Linked DNA regions of Homo sapiens: all the other regions are linked to region 2. Evidence: promoter capture Hi-C in 16 types of primary human blood cells and fetal thymus (Javierre and others, 2016). All regions are on one chromosome and are shown on one strand. Each heading gives the region's core, a stretch centred on a gene start or on the middle of the fragment in contact. The rest is flanking DNA. Distances are from core to core; before and after follow the strand shown. Region 1 has its middle 23 kb from the start of ZCCHC13. Region 2 holds the start of CITED1 (Cbp/p300 interacting transactivator with Glu/Asp rich carboxy-terminal domain 1). Region 3 has its middle 39 kb from the start of ZCCHC13.

Region 1 (4,469 bases), core at 620-3,119, 2.0 Mb after region 2:
TTTACTCCTGGTGGACAGCCCCACTTTCAGAGCTTGAAGCCCCAGAGAGACGGAGAGGGAATGCACGCACCTGCACCTCCTGTGAAGGTCAGAGAAATCTGTGACTAAGGAAGATGCCAATTAGCACCAGTCCACAGAGTTAGAGCTCTGGACAGACCTCTCCTGGGTACTTCTAAACTCTTGTTATTTCAAAAATTCTAGGAAAGCAGCTCGTCAAATGGAAAAATCTGCATTGGCGATCACCCTGAGCTCGGGCCATCCCAGAAGGCAAGATGGCTGGGGTCTTCTTAGGCAGTGGAGAAATGTGTTCTTGGTGTCCTTTGGGGAGGGGAAGCAGAAGCCTCTGGCACTGCACGGTGGGCTGGCAGTCTCATGGATGCTGACTATGTTGGGGAGCCCCACGTTCTGGCATTGCTTCAGAATCAGCTGTCACCGAAGGGCTGTGTGGGCCCGAGCCAGTCCTTACTCTCAGTTTCCTGATCTCTAGGAGGGAATGATATGGTCTCTCTTCACTCTCAAATGTACTGGATTATGACACACTCCCCCACCTACATCCTGGGCAGGAATCGCTCTCACCCAGGGTTATAGGAGCCTGTGTGGCACACCCTACTCTCACCCACCAGGCCAGACTGAAGAAACCAACATAGCTGGTTACCTCTCTCCCTCTTAAGTGGGGGCACTTCCCAGAGCCACCAAGTTGTGATCATGAGCTGCCTCCTGGTGGCCTGGGAGGTGAGATTCAGAGGGGCTCCAGGCAGGCAGGTTGGGGGTGAGGTCAGCAGCTGCCCCAGAGATCAGCTTTTCAAGAACAGGCATCTGAGACAGAGTGTCTGTGCTGGATGAGGAAAATATTGGGAAGGCCAGCTGTCTATAGCTGAGCAAGAGCAGGGTCCAGACAGCCCCCTCTTTCTGCAGCATCTTTGTGGCTCCTGGTTGCTAGGAGCAGGTGCTTCTGTTACTAAGCAACAGGAGCCTGTTGGATGAAAACCAATTTCCTGAGCTCTCTAAAAGGGGGAGGGAGAGGAGGTGGAATACAGATGGTCTAGGGAATATCAGGTTTGCCCTCAAGCTTAACTGGAGGTTGGGGGTGGAGGGTGAATATGCACCAGGTACTTAGTATAAAGACTGAGAGACAGACTGGCAATTAAGATGCTGATTAGAGCAGTAAAGAATGCTAATGCTGCTCCTTTGCAAAACCCCAGGAAAGGCCTCTGGTCCCTGGGGGTGTTTCTGAACTCTTATTATGTCAAAAATCCTAGGAATCACCTGACTTGGCTAGACAAAACTGAGCAGAGTTCCTTCTCCAAATACAGAGGATCAATGCATTTTAGGGTCAATGGGCCCCCAAGTGTCCTGGAGTTTAACCACTGGCTGAATGACAAAGGACCCTCCGTCTCTGCTTAGATATTCTCTTTGATGACCGGGTGCTTACTTCCTCCTGAGGCAGGCCTTTCTGTATCTCCGCCCCGCACCCCTCCCCCCCCAAACCCCCCCGCCCCGCCCCGGCCCCTGAGCAGGCGGAGTCTCGCTCTTGTCACCCAGACTGGAGTGCAGTGGCGTGATCTTGGCTCACTGCAACCTCCGCCTCCCGGGTTCAAGCAATTCTCCTGCCTCAGCCTCCCAAGTAGCTGGGATTACAGGCACGAACCCAGCTAATTTTTGTACTTTTAGTAGAAATGGGGTTTCACCATGTTGGCCAGGCTGGTCTCGAGCTTCTTACCTCGTGATCCGCCCGCCTTGGCCTCCCAAAGTGATGGGTTACAGGCGTAAGCCACTGCGCCCAGCCCCTTTCTGTTTCTTATCAGTAGAAAGTACTTTTTTCTGTGGAATCCAAGTCAGTCTCCTTGTGGCTCCTTCCTGCAAGGGGCATAGGGAGGAAGGAGCGAGTAAGGGGAGGAGGGCAGCTACTCCAATCTGCTTTGCTATAGAGATCTGTAACCTCTACTTTCTGTGACCCCCTAACCCCCATCACTAGCCACCTCTCAGGGGACAGCCCTCACCACAGTTTGCAGGCCTCTGATCCCCTACTTTCCACTTGGTCTTTATGTGCATAGGGATATATTGTAATCTCCTTAAAGAGTGAACTGCTACTTTTGATGAATTTGCAGAGTCCAGGACACAATTCTTGTCTCAGACTTCTTTCACTGCCCTGCTCAGACAGGGACCTCCTGGCTCAAGACCATGTCAGTGGACAGGTGTTTCTCCTTCTAGTGGGGTTTCTGTTTTCAGGAGGACCGGCTGGGTCAGGAGGAGAAGGCAAGGGGTCCTCTCCATGCTAAGTATTGGTCTTTGATCCTGAAGGTCTTCAGGTCTTGGATCCTGATTTCTGAGCAGGACTCTTCCCTGCTCTTGTGCCTGTCTAGGCTTTGGCAAGCTCAGCCCAGGTGGCAGACCACTTTCCCTCTGCACGTACCCCACAGTGATCAAGGATACATTCAGTTTGGCTGAACAAACATTTTATATTTTTCTATAACACTTTCTATGATTTAACATATGTTTTACCTTTTTGTTTTGGTTCTTTTCCTTCCAACTATGACACAATGTCCATGAGGGATGAGATATTTCTGTGTTTTGTTAATTGCTGTATTTCAGTGTGTAGAACAAGTGTGGCGCCTAGTAGGTGCTCAAGAAATATATGTTGAATAATGAATATATGCTTACATATGTAAATAAGCTTTTTATATTGTTGGGACTCAGAAAAAAATTACCCCAAATGAAGGCCTCAGGTGCTGGGAAAACTGGCTATCCATATGCAAAAGAATGAAACTGAACCTCTATCTCTCGCCATATACAAAAATCAAATCAAAATGGATTAAAGACTTAACTGTAAGACCTCAAACTATGAAACTACTTAAAAAAAAAAGCCACTGGGGCCGGGCACGATGGCTCACGCCTGTAATCCCAGCACTTTGGAGGCCAAGGCGGGTGGATCATCTGAGATCAGGAGTTCAAGATCAGCCTGGCCAATATGGTGCGATCACATCTCTACCAAAAATCCAAAAATTAGCTGGGTATGTGTGGTGGCAGACACCTGTAATCCCAGCTACTCCGGAGGCTGAGGCAGGAGAATCACCTGAATCTGGGAGACGGAGATCTCAATGAGCAGAGATTGCACCATTGCACTCCAGCCTGGGCGACATGAGCGAGACTCCTTCTCAAAAACAAAACAAAACAAACACAAACAAACCAACAAAAAACCATTGGAGAACTCTCTGGAACATTGGACTGGGTAAAGATTTCTTTTCTGTTTTTGTTTGAAACGGAATCTCGCTCTGTCGCCCAGGCTGGAGTGCAGTGGCAGGATCTCGGCTCACTGCAACCTCCGCCTCCCGGGTTCAAGCGTTTCTCCTGCCTCAGCCTCCCGAGTAGCTGGGAGTTCAGGCGCATGCCACCACATCTGGCTAATTTTTTGTATTTTTAGTAGAGACGGGGTTTCACCTTATTAGCCAGGAAGGTCTAATATTTGATAGCACAACAGGGTGACTGTAGTCAACAATAATTTCATTGTACATTTTAAAACAATTAAAAGAGTATAATTGCATTGTTTCTAACACAAAGGATAATGCTTGACGTGATAGACACCACATTTATCCTGATATGACTATTATATATTGTATGCCTGTATCAAAATATCTCATGTACCTCATAAATATACACACCTACTATGTACCCGCAAAAATTAAAAATTAAAAAAAAAAACAAGCAAACAAAATGAAAGCCTCAGAAAGAGCCTCAGAAACAAAGTTTCTCTCTGACCTTCTCCTGCTCTCTTGTCTCTCACCTCTCATTCTCCCCCACGGCTAGCCACAGAAACTAAAATCCCTGTTCCCCATGGGGGGTCATAGAAACCAGAACCCCTTTTCCCCAGTGCCAGCCATAAAACCTTTTCATCTATCTTGTTTTGTAAAGACTGGTCATAAAGAAATTATCTGACCTGTCTTTATTTATTTATTTATTTATTTTGAGACTGACTCTCACTCTGTTGCCCAGGCTGGCGTGCAGTGGCATGATCTCGGCTCACTGCAACCTCTGCCTCCCAGGTTCAAGCAATTCTCATGCCTCAGTCTCCTGGGTAACTGGGACTACAGGCATGAGCCACCACGCCAAGCTAATTTTTTTTTTTTTTTTTTGAGACTGACTCTCACTGTGTTGCCCAGGCTGGAATGCAATGGCACGATCTTGGCTCACTGCAACCTCCACCTCCCAGGTTGAAGCGATTCTCCTGCCTCAGCCTCCTGAGTAGCTGGGATTATAGGCAAGAGCCACTACGCCCGGCTAATTTTTTTGTATTTTAGTAGAGACAGGGTTTCACCATGTTGGTCAGGCTTGTCTCAAACTCCTGACCTCAAGTGATCTGACCGCCTCGCCCTCCCAAAGTGCAAGATTGCAGGCGTGAGCCACGTGCCCGGCCGCTAATTTTTTTTGTTTTGTTGTTGTTGGCCAGCTGGTCTTGAACTCCTGACCTCAGG
Region 2 (4,040 bases), core at 32-2,531:
ACAACAGGAGCAGCAGCAACAACAGCAAAACCAAAAGAGAAACATTAGAAAAATCAAAAGAGAGAACGAGCAAAAAAACTCTCTCTATTCTGATATCAGTTCGTGGGGGAAGACCATTTTACCGCGCCTCCCTCTTCAATCTGGGAGCTCCCCCAGAAGAGGCCCTGTGTCCATTCAGATCTTCTGCCTTCCATTACTGACCCACCACCCACCCTGACCCCAGCCTGGGTCTGCGCTCAATAGGCGCTCAGTAAGTGTTGTTGAATGCGTCTGAAGAAGCAATCGCATTTCCATCGGCATCCCTGGCTCTGCTTCCCCGGCTTTCTGCCCTCCTCCACCACCCTCTAGCCCGTTCGTGGGCAAAACTTGGCAACGCGGAAACGTCCCAGCCCGCTCTCCAAGCCGCGAGCTGACCACTGCGAAACGGCTGCGACAGGCGGCTGGGAAACCTAGAGCAACAAGTGCCTTCTCGCCGGCTGATGCCTGGCGGCCCCCCGGCCACCAGTTCCCAGTCCCGCTGCCCGCTCTTCGCTTCAGGCCTTCCCTTGGGCGAGCAGCCCCCTCCCGCCTAGACAGGGGTGGGAAGGGGAGAGGGAAAAGAGAAGGGAGAGGCAGGTGGGGGCCTCATCTTTAACCTGTTGGGGGACCAAAAGTTAAAATGGCACCAACCGGATGGTTCCATCTCGATTGCTATTTTCTCACTCAGAAGGAGAAATTTAAAAATCCAAACAGCACTGCGGCTTGGCTTGGACGCGCTCTAACCAGACCAGTCAGTTTCGCCACCTGAAAACTAAAGGCCCGTTGTTTGCGGACAGCTCGGCTGCCCTCCTCGCCGCATCCCAGATGGAGCCGCGGAACCGGGGGCGGCCGGGAGCATCCCTTGCACGGCGGGCGCGTGCACCCAGGCCACCGGGGCCCTGAGCGTCCGTTCCCGCAAGTGCTGTATCAGGAACTGATCTTAGAGACAGGATGGACAGGCAGGAAGGGGCACGGGGTGTCGGCCTCCGCGGCGAGTCCGCACTCCGGCGCCGGCTGCTGCCACTCTCGCGCCTGATCAACACTTACTGAGCGCCCGCTGAGCATCCGACGCGGCAGCAGGCTGAGCCTACCCCCTAGCCAAGCCGCCTGCGGTCAGTGCTAAAACCCCGCTAGGAGAAGAGTGAGAGAGGCTCGGAGAGGTGCGGTAACTTGCCCAAGGTCACAGCGCTAGAAAGTGGCGGAGCCGGGATTCGCAGCCAGGTCTCTCTGACTCCAAGTCCGGTGCTCTGCGAAGCAGGGACTCGGCGCGCGGCTCGCCAGCCCGCGTTTATAGGGAGAGGGGTGTGCGCGTGGGTGTGTGTGTGTGGGCGTGTGTCGGGGGAGGGGAGGGCTGAGGTCGACTGGGCAGTAGAGGCAAGTTGCCCAAATTCGCTAACTTCCATCCCGCAATTCCGCTGAACTCGGCCCGAAAAGCCCCCTCTTGCCTCAATTCCCCGAAGTAAATCTGAGCTTTGTGCAGCTCCGGAGCCAGAGCGTCCAGATGCGGTCCGGGAGATTAGCAAAGTCGGTGGAAGCCAAGCTGGAGAAAGCGCGGGCGCAGGGAGAAAAGGTGCTGCCGTCTCCCCGGGAGAAGCGGGCACCCGGCCCCGCTGGCCGGCAGGGGGGCGCGCTGGCAAGCGAACCCGAGCGCTGGCGGGCGGGCGGGCGGGCGGCCCCTCGCCCCCAGCAGAGCAGCTTTCCAACAGAAAGCAAGTCTCCCCAGAACCCTCCGGCCCGCCTGGCGGCCGCCCACTCCCCATACCCGCTCCACGGGAGTCCTCGGCCCCGCCGCCCAGCCCGGCGCCCAGCCCGGCGGCCCGGCTTACCTCTGAGAAGCCGCCTGCCCTGGAGAGAGGGAAGCGCGGAGCTCGGTGAGCCGCAAGAGAGGCGGCGGAGCCCCCAGCCCCTGGCACGCACGCCGCCGCCACCGCTACCGCGAACCGGTCGCGCTCAGCGCCCGCGGCCGCGCCGTTGGCCACCCGACCCCGGGGCGCCTGGGAAAAGCCCGCACCGCGCCGCGCCGCCGCTGCACCGCACAGTGCCGCGCCAAGCAGCCCCTGACCGAGCTGGTGCCCGCCCGCCCGCCCGCAGCTTCGGCGCCGGACTCCGGGGCGGTGGCGGTGGCGGCCACCGCGCTCCCTTCCCGGCGCTGGGGACCCGGCTCTCAAGCCCCCATTGCCGCCCGGAGAGCCCTGACGCACACGCACACGGCAGCAGACTGGCCTCGGCTAGGAATCCCAGGAAGGACAGACCCTTTTTTTCCCTTTTTTTTTCTCCCCTCAATTTCCACGTCTTTATAACCGGCTTAGGGCATTATTAGCACATGTCCTGGCTCGTGGGCGAGTTGGTGGCAAAATCTGAACTGGATACTCACGGAGGGCCCGCGCGGGTGCTGTGCCGTCCGCTGCTCTCTTCCTCCTCACCGAGAACTGCCCCTCGCCGGCGGACTACAAGAGGGCAGCCGGGCAGAGCGAGCTTCCTCTCGGCAGCTCAGCGGTGCCCCTTCTGCAGCTTTGCCGCCGGGCACATTTTTATAGCAGCGGCTGGCGTCTGTGGCCCTTTAAAGGCGCTCGAGCTGGTGCAGTCACCGCGGATCGTGTGAAAGCAAAGGGCCGGCTGGGGAACGGAGTCCACGCGGCCACGCGAGTCCGGCAGCCCTGTGGACCGGCCAAGGCTCCCGGGGTGGGGCTGGCGAGTCCGGGCTATGGGCAGCCCTCGCCCGGAGCCCTGGCCAGTGCCCGGCTTCTAAAGCTGTCGGGGGCCAGGGCCCGGGACACCGGCTCTCCCCACCGCCCTGCGTGGACTTGCCCAATAAATTCCACTTAGTAATTTCACTGAGGCAAAGGAGAGCCGTTAGTGTCTGTTTTCTGACCTAAATCTAGTCGGGGGCCAAAACGGGCTTCAGGGGTTTTGGGAGAGAGCTGTGGGCTCAAGGAGTGACCTGGAAGAGCGGGGCGCACACGAGACGGGGGAATGGTCATTAGTTTTCTGCAGGGCTGTCTTGGAGCCTGTCTGCCTTTTGGGGGGGCTGTACTATCTCATTCGTTGAAGAGCTGAGGCTGGGGGCTCCTTTTCCTCTTAAAGTCGCCAGATTCTGGGCAGAGTCGCATGGGGGGCCTATATGGCAGCGGTGGCTCTTCTAGAAGTTCTGAGCTGGGGTTGGGTTCGAGGGTTTCTGTTCTGTGGTCATCCAGGGCAGGAGGCTGGCAGGATGCGACCCGGAGAAATGCTACTCTCCCGGACCGTGGGGCCAGGTACAGCTCACTAGGCTCGCCGAAAAGCCAACAGTAGGCAACGGGGTACGAAGAGCTTGCCCCAGGGTTCGCGGAGATTCCTCCTGCCTTCCCACGATGTCAGGTTGTTTTATTGTAACTACATAATCATTCCCGTCTAGCAAGAATAACGTTTTGCATTTGGAGTTCGTCTTTCTTAGGTAGAGATGTTGTCTTACAAATCCTTACTGGAAAGAGGTCTGGGTCTTCTCCTTCACCTCAATTCGGATTCTTTGTGGCCAAGAAATTCCCACCTTACCACTTACAGGGAGGCCATCGGGATTACCCCTCTGTCACCCCCCCACCCCGCCCCGGCCCCGCCGCTCTTTTTTTGCTGCCTTTCAGCAACAGCGACTCAGTTTACACTGTTTATAAAACATACTCTTTAAGAAAAGGTCCTGATGTTAAAAAAGGGGGGGAGGGAATGTCACGAAGTCATTTTCACTATGTATGTGTTCTGTCTTCTTAATTGGATTTGAAGACCTGAAGTTCTCTTTTTCTTTTCTTTTTCTTTTTTTAGTAGCCCCAAGTGCCCTGCATTTGCTCTTCTAACAAAGTTCTGTTTGTTGACGGACTGACCGGCTTACCGACACAAAGATGGGAAGCAAATGGAGAGACGGATCAAGGCCCTTCCTCGGCATCTGGAGGAAGCTTGGGCGAGTGTCTTGGTCGCCAGGTAAACCCATTCTCCAGCCCTCAAGGCTGCCTTGCACAGCTCCAGTCTTTTCACTTACCCTGTCCCAACACAAA
Region 3 (4,163 bases), core at 1,099-3,598, 2.0 Mb after region 2:
TTGAAGTAAATATCTATACTGATAGCAAATATGCATTTGGAGTCTATCATGCTATGAAACAAATATGGAAGAATAGAGGCTTTCTAACATCCATGTGAACTAAAATATCACATTGTAAACTAATTCTCAATCTTTTAGAGTTATCCCAGCTTCTCCAACAGATTTCTGTAATTCATTGTGGTGTGCATACCAGACACAGTAAAACGTCTAAAGAAATTTAATTTGCACACCAAGCTGTGAAAAAGGCTACTAAAGTTTTGACTGGAGAAATTTAATCACCATTACTTATATCCGGGGATTCCTATTCACAATTTCAGAAACGTGCAACTTCACAAGATTTAGAAAATTGGAAACCAAGGGTATCTAAGAACACCATAGGGCTTTGGGAATTATACAATAAAATTATTCCTGCACTTCAATTGTTGTACCTTGGATGCCTTTTTCATATTGTCAACAAACTAATTTAAACAAAAGAAATATACTGAACACCTTGGAATCTTATCACACTTGGAATAAAGATCAAATAATTCAGGATATAATACAAAGGTATGTTGCTTGTCAGAAAAATTGTTTACAGGGGGCACATAAGGAAGCTAAGGAAGCCTACTGAAGGCATTATTACCTGGAATCTGGTAGCAAACGGATTTTATAGAGTTTCCGTCCTCAGAAGGTAAGAGATATTGATTAGAATAATTGTATATGATGTCTGAATTACTGGAAGTGCTCCTATCAGCTAAAGCAGATGCTCAAACAGTGATCAAGGCCTTACTGAATTTTATCATCTCAACCTTTGGAATTCTAAATATCTGGAATCTGTTGGGAAAAGCTATTTCATTTCTATGGTAACTTAAGAGCTCTGTAAAAAAAAAAATTGCCAGTAATTTACAATACTCCTTATTATTCCCAGTCTTATGGACAAGAAGAATGAATGAAGCATATTCTAAATAATTTTTTTAAACAAAAGTTTTCACATATTTATTAATGAACCAACCTACTAGTACAGAGCATAGAAATAAAGATAAACATAATTTTCCCCATAAACATGTCCAACTGTCCAGATAGTGATGTTTTCAGTTTTATACAGTAAGATAATTGTGACCTTGATACAGCATAAATATGTGTGCCATCTCATGTTCAATTCCTAATAAGGGAGGAGACCACCCCTCATATTGTCTTATGCCCAATTTCTGCCTCAAAGAAAAAGTAGGAGTTAAAGAAAAGACAGAAGTGAAATCAGTAGTCAGACAGCCTGGTGCTGCATTCCAGGCCTGGTAGTTAAACATCGACCTCTGACCTAACTGGTTATGTTATCTATAGATTCCAGACATTGTATGGAAAAGCATTGTGAAAATCCCTGTCCTGTTCTGTTCCATTCTGATTACCGGTGCATGCAGCCCCCAGTCCCGTATGCCCTGCTTGCTCAATCGATCACAACCCTCTCATGCGGACCCCTCTTAGAGTTATAAGCCCTTAAAAGGGACAGGAATTGCTCACTCAGGGAGCTCAGTTTTTGAGCCGTGAGTCTGCTGACGCTCCCGGCCGAATAAAGCTCCTTCCTTCTTTAACCCGGCGTCTGAGGAGTTTTGTCTGCGGCTTGTCCTGCTACACTTATAGACTAAGCTTGGTTCTTAACCAATGCATCCTCCAGGAGTTTTACTTGATTTTATTACCAGTTTTCATCCAAATCCAGAATGGGATGATTTCATACTTGTTTCTTAGCTAGGAATCACTTGATCCTAAGTGTCTTGTGAGACGACAAGGAAAGGAATAGAGTTGACTGCATATACCGTGATGGAAGAGTAAGGCCATACTCTAAAGAATTTTTTGGCTAAATAATATCAAACCACTGGCTTGTGATAGCCCAGAATCTTATCACACTTTACCATTGATTTTATTAAAAATAAGGTCACCTGTTTCAGCAAGTGTGTTATTTCTCCCTTTGAGTTTTTGTTTGGAAGATTTATAAACTCAGGGTTTAATTCTAACTCCTTATTAGATACAATGGAAAACACTTATGATATCAGATACAGTACTCAGAGGGTTTGCTGGTTCTTTGGCCTCATTACACCATCGCATGGCCAGATCTGAAACAATCCCTCTGAGGAGATGTGTCATTGATATCCACCAGGAAACAATGTCTACAATCAAAGTGTTCCAATGACCAGGAAATAAAGTCTATATCAAAGTGTTTCAATTATAAACTGTATGGCTACTACTGTTATATAATTAAGCTAAAGATTGCCCCCATATTGTTACTTCTTCACAGCAGGCTAGTACCTGTAGCTCAAAAGCCTAAAATTTTTACACATCCAGTTGTTTTAAATATAAATCAACTAAGCAGATTCTGGCAGATTGGCCAGTTACAGCCAGCCTGCTTTACATACTCCACAACACTATACCTAACATCTGCTAGACATTGATAAGACAAACCCTGTATCTATAAAAAACCAAGCTAATGCTGACCTTTGATGCTCTCTAACCCAGAAACTCCCTGATATGGTTTGGATCAGCGTCCCTGCCCAAATCTCATGTTCAATTGTAATCCCCAATTCTGGAGGTGGGGCCTGGTTGCAGGTGATTGGATCATGGAGGTGGTTTCCAGTGGTTTAGCACCATCCTCCTAGTGCTGTCTTGTTATAGAGTTTTCACAAGATCCAGTTGTTTAAAAGTGTGTGGCACTTCCCCAACCCCTCTTCCTCCTGCTCCAGCCATGCAAGACGTGCTTGCTTCCCCTTCTCTTTATGCCATAATTGAAAGTCTCCTGAGCCCTCCCCAGCCATGCTTCCTATGCAGCCTGCAGAACCATGAGTCAATTAAACCTCTTTACTTTATAAATTGCCCAGTCTCAGGTATTTCTTTATAGCAGTGTGAGAATGGACTAATACACTCCCCATCTTGCTGCTGAGTAATATAACCTACACAAATAAACTCTATCTCTGATTCAGCCCTCAGCTTTCCCCTGGGAGTTCCCTTGCCCTTTCCCCTTCTGAGTAATGACCCGGTACAGTTGCCTCTGGATAGTCTCCTGCTGTGAAGGACTTCCTCTCTCAAGCAACCTCTCCAAGTGCCACCCAAACAAAGCTTGTTATGTGCTACTGCCACCTTGTGGTTATCTTTTTTGGCTCAGCCTCAAAATCCTACAAGTGAGTTCTATAGGATCCTGGTGATCAAGCAATTGGGAAGAGGTCTATTCCCATCGGTAGGACAATAAATAGGCAAATTGATCTTGGAAGGCCTTTAAGTGATTGGAATTCAATATTTGGAATACCTCTGCATCAGTTTGGCATGGCATCACTCTTTGCTGTACTTCATTCTATAGTTTTTGTGGTCTCCCTATATACCTCATTCGCCTGGCCAAGTTGTAGCACCAGTATTTTAGTGAACTCACATCATTAGAACTTTTATGGTCAGAAATGCTAAGCTGCCCAGGAAAGATCAGCCAGCCCACCTGGGTCCCTCGCTAGGCAGGTGCTAGAAGTTGTAAGATCCACGGTCCCAAACAGGAAAAGGAGAAGAGTTCATGCTTCTGGACCAAGAGTGGGCTGCCCCTGATCCCATAACAGCTACAGTGAAAGGAGCTCCCTTAGCTCAGCTAAGGATTTGAAGTACTCTGAGATGAGAGGACATCTTTGTCCTTGGGGACCACTATAGTAGGCAAAGGAGCTAATTAATAAGGCAGATGCGTCAGATTAGGGTAGGTCACCTAAATGCAGGTGGGAAAGATGCCTTTGCAAGCAGTTAGTATGCTTCTGCTGATGTGACACAATTATGTTGTTGAGAATGTTGTCACTCTATCCCTTCCTTGGAAGGATGTTGAGATCCCAATTCTTGGGCTGAGCTGGCTAAAGCATTTTCTTTTTTTTCTGGGTTTTTTTTTTTTTTTTTTTTTTTTGAGACGGAGTCTTGCTCTGTCTCCCAGGCTGGAGTGCAGTGGCGCGATCTCGGCTCACTGCAAGCTCCGCCTCCCAGGTTCATGCCATTCTCCTGCCTCAGCCTCCCGAGTAGCTGGGATTACAGGCGCCTGCCACCACACTCGGCTAATTTTTTGTATTTTTGGTAGAGATGGGGTTTCACCGTGCTAGCCAGGATGGTCTCCATCTCCTGACCTCGTGATCCGCCTGCCTTGGCCTCCCAAAGTGCTGGGATTACAGGCGTGAGCCACT

What was found. The method cuts DNA at HindIII sites, captures the fragments that hold promoters and counts their contacts. A CHiCAGO score of 5 or more calls a contact.
Region 1: a contact is called between a fragment that was not itself captured here and the fragment with the promoter of CITED1 in region 2, in 1 of 17 cell types (neutrophils). The highest score is 6.9, in neutrophils.
Region 3: a contact is called between a fragment that was not itself captured here and the fragment with the promoter of CITED1 in region 2, in 1 of 17 cell types (non-activated CD4 T cells). The highest score is 5.9, in non-activated CD4 T cells.

What each region holds. Positions count from the first base shown.
Region 1 is chrX:74,324,512-74,328,980 of GRCh38, forward strand. No RefSeq gene overlaps it. Among named protein-coding and RNA genes, the nearest start is that of ZCCHC13, 23 kb to the left of the region's middle. RefSeq lists enhancers at 483-1,248, 1,249-2,015. The HindIII fragment of the contact is 1,605 bases long and covers 1,068-2,672 here.
Region 2 is chrX:72,304,633-72,308,672 of GRCh38, forward strand. It overlaps CITED1 (Cbp/p300 interacting transactivator with Glu/Asp rich carboxy-terminal domain 1), which reads right to left and starts at 1,282. Exons shown (of 3, transcript NM_001144887.2): 1 at 1,193-1,282. It overlaps LOC105373250 (a long non-coding RNA gene), which reads left to right and starts at 1,470. Exons shown (of 3, transcript XR_938441.2): 1 at 1,470-1,588; 2 at 3,811-3,966. RefSeq lists a silencer at 2,267-2,561 and an enhancer at 2,288-2,337. The HindIII fragment of the contact is 8,247 bases long and covers 1-3,939 here.
Region 3 is chrX:74,341,105-74,345,267 of GRCh38, forward strand. No RefSeq gene overlaps it. Among named protein-coding and RNA genes, the nearest start is that of ZCCHC13, 39 kb to the left of the region's middle. The HindIII fragment of the contact is 1,461 bases long and covers 1,619-3,079 here.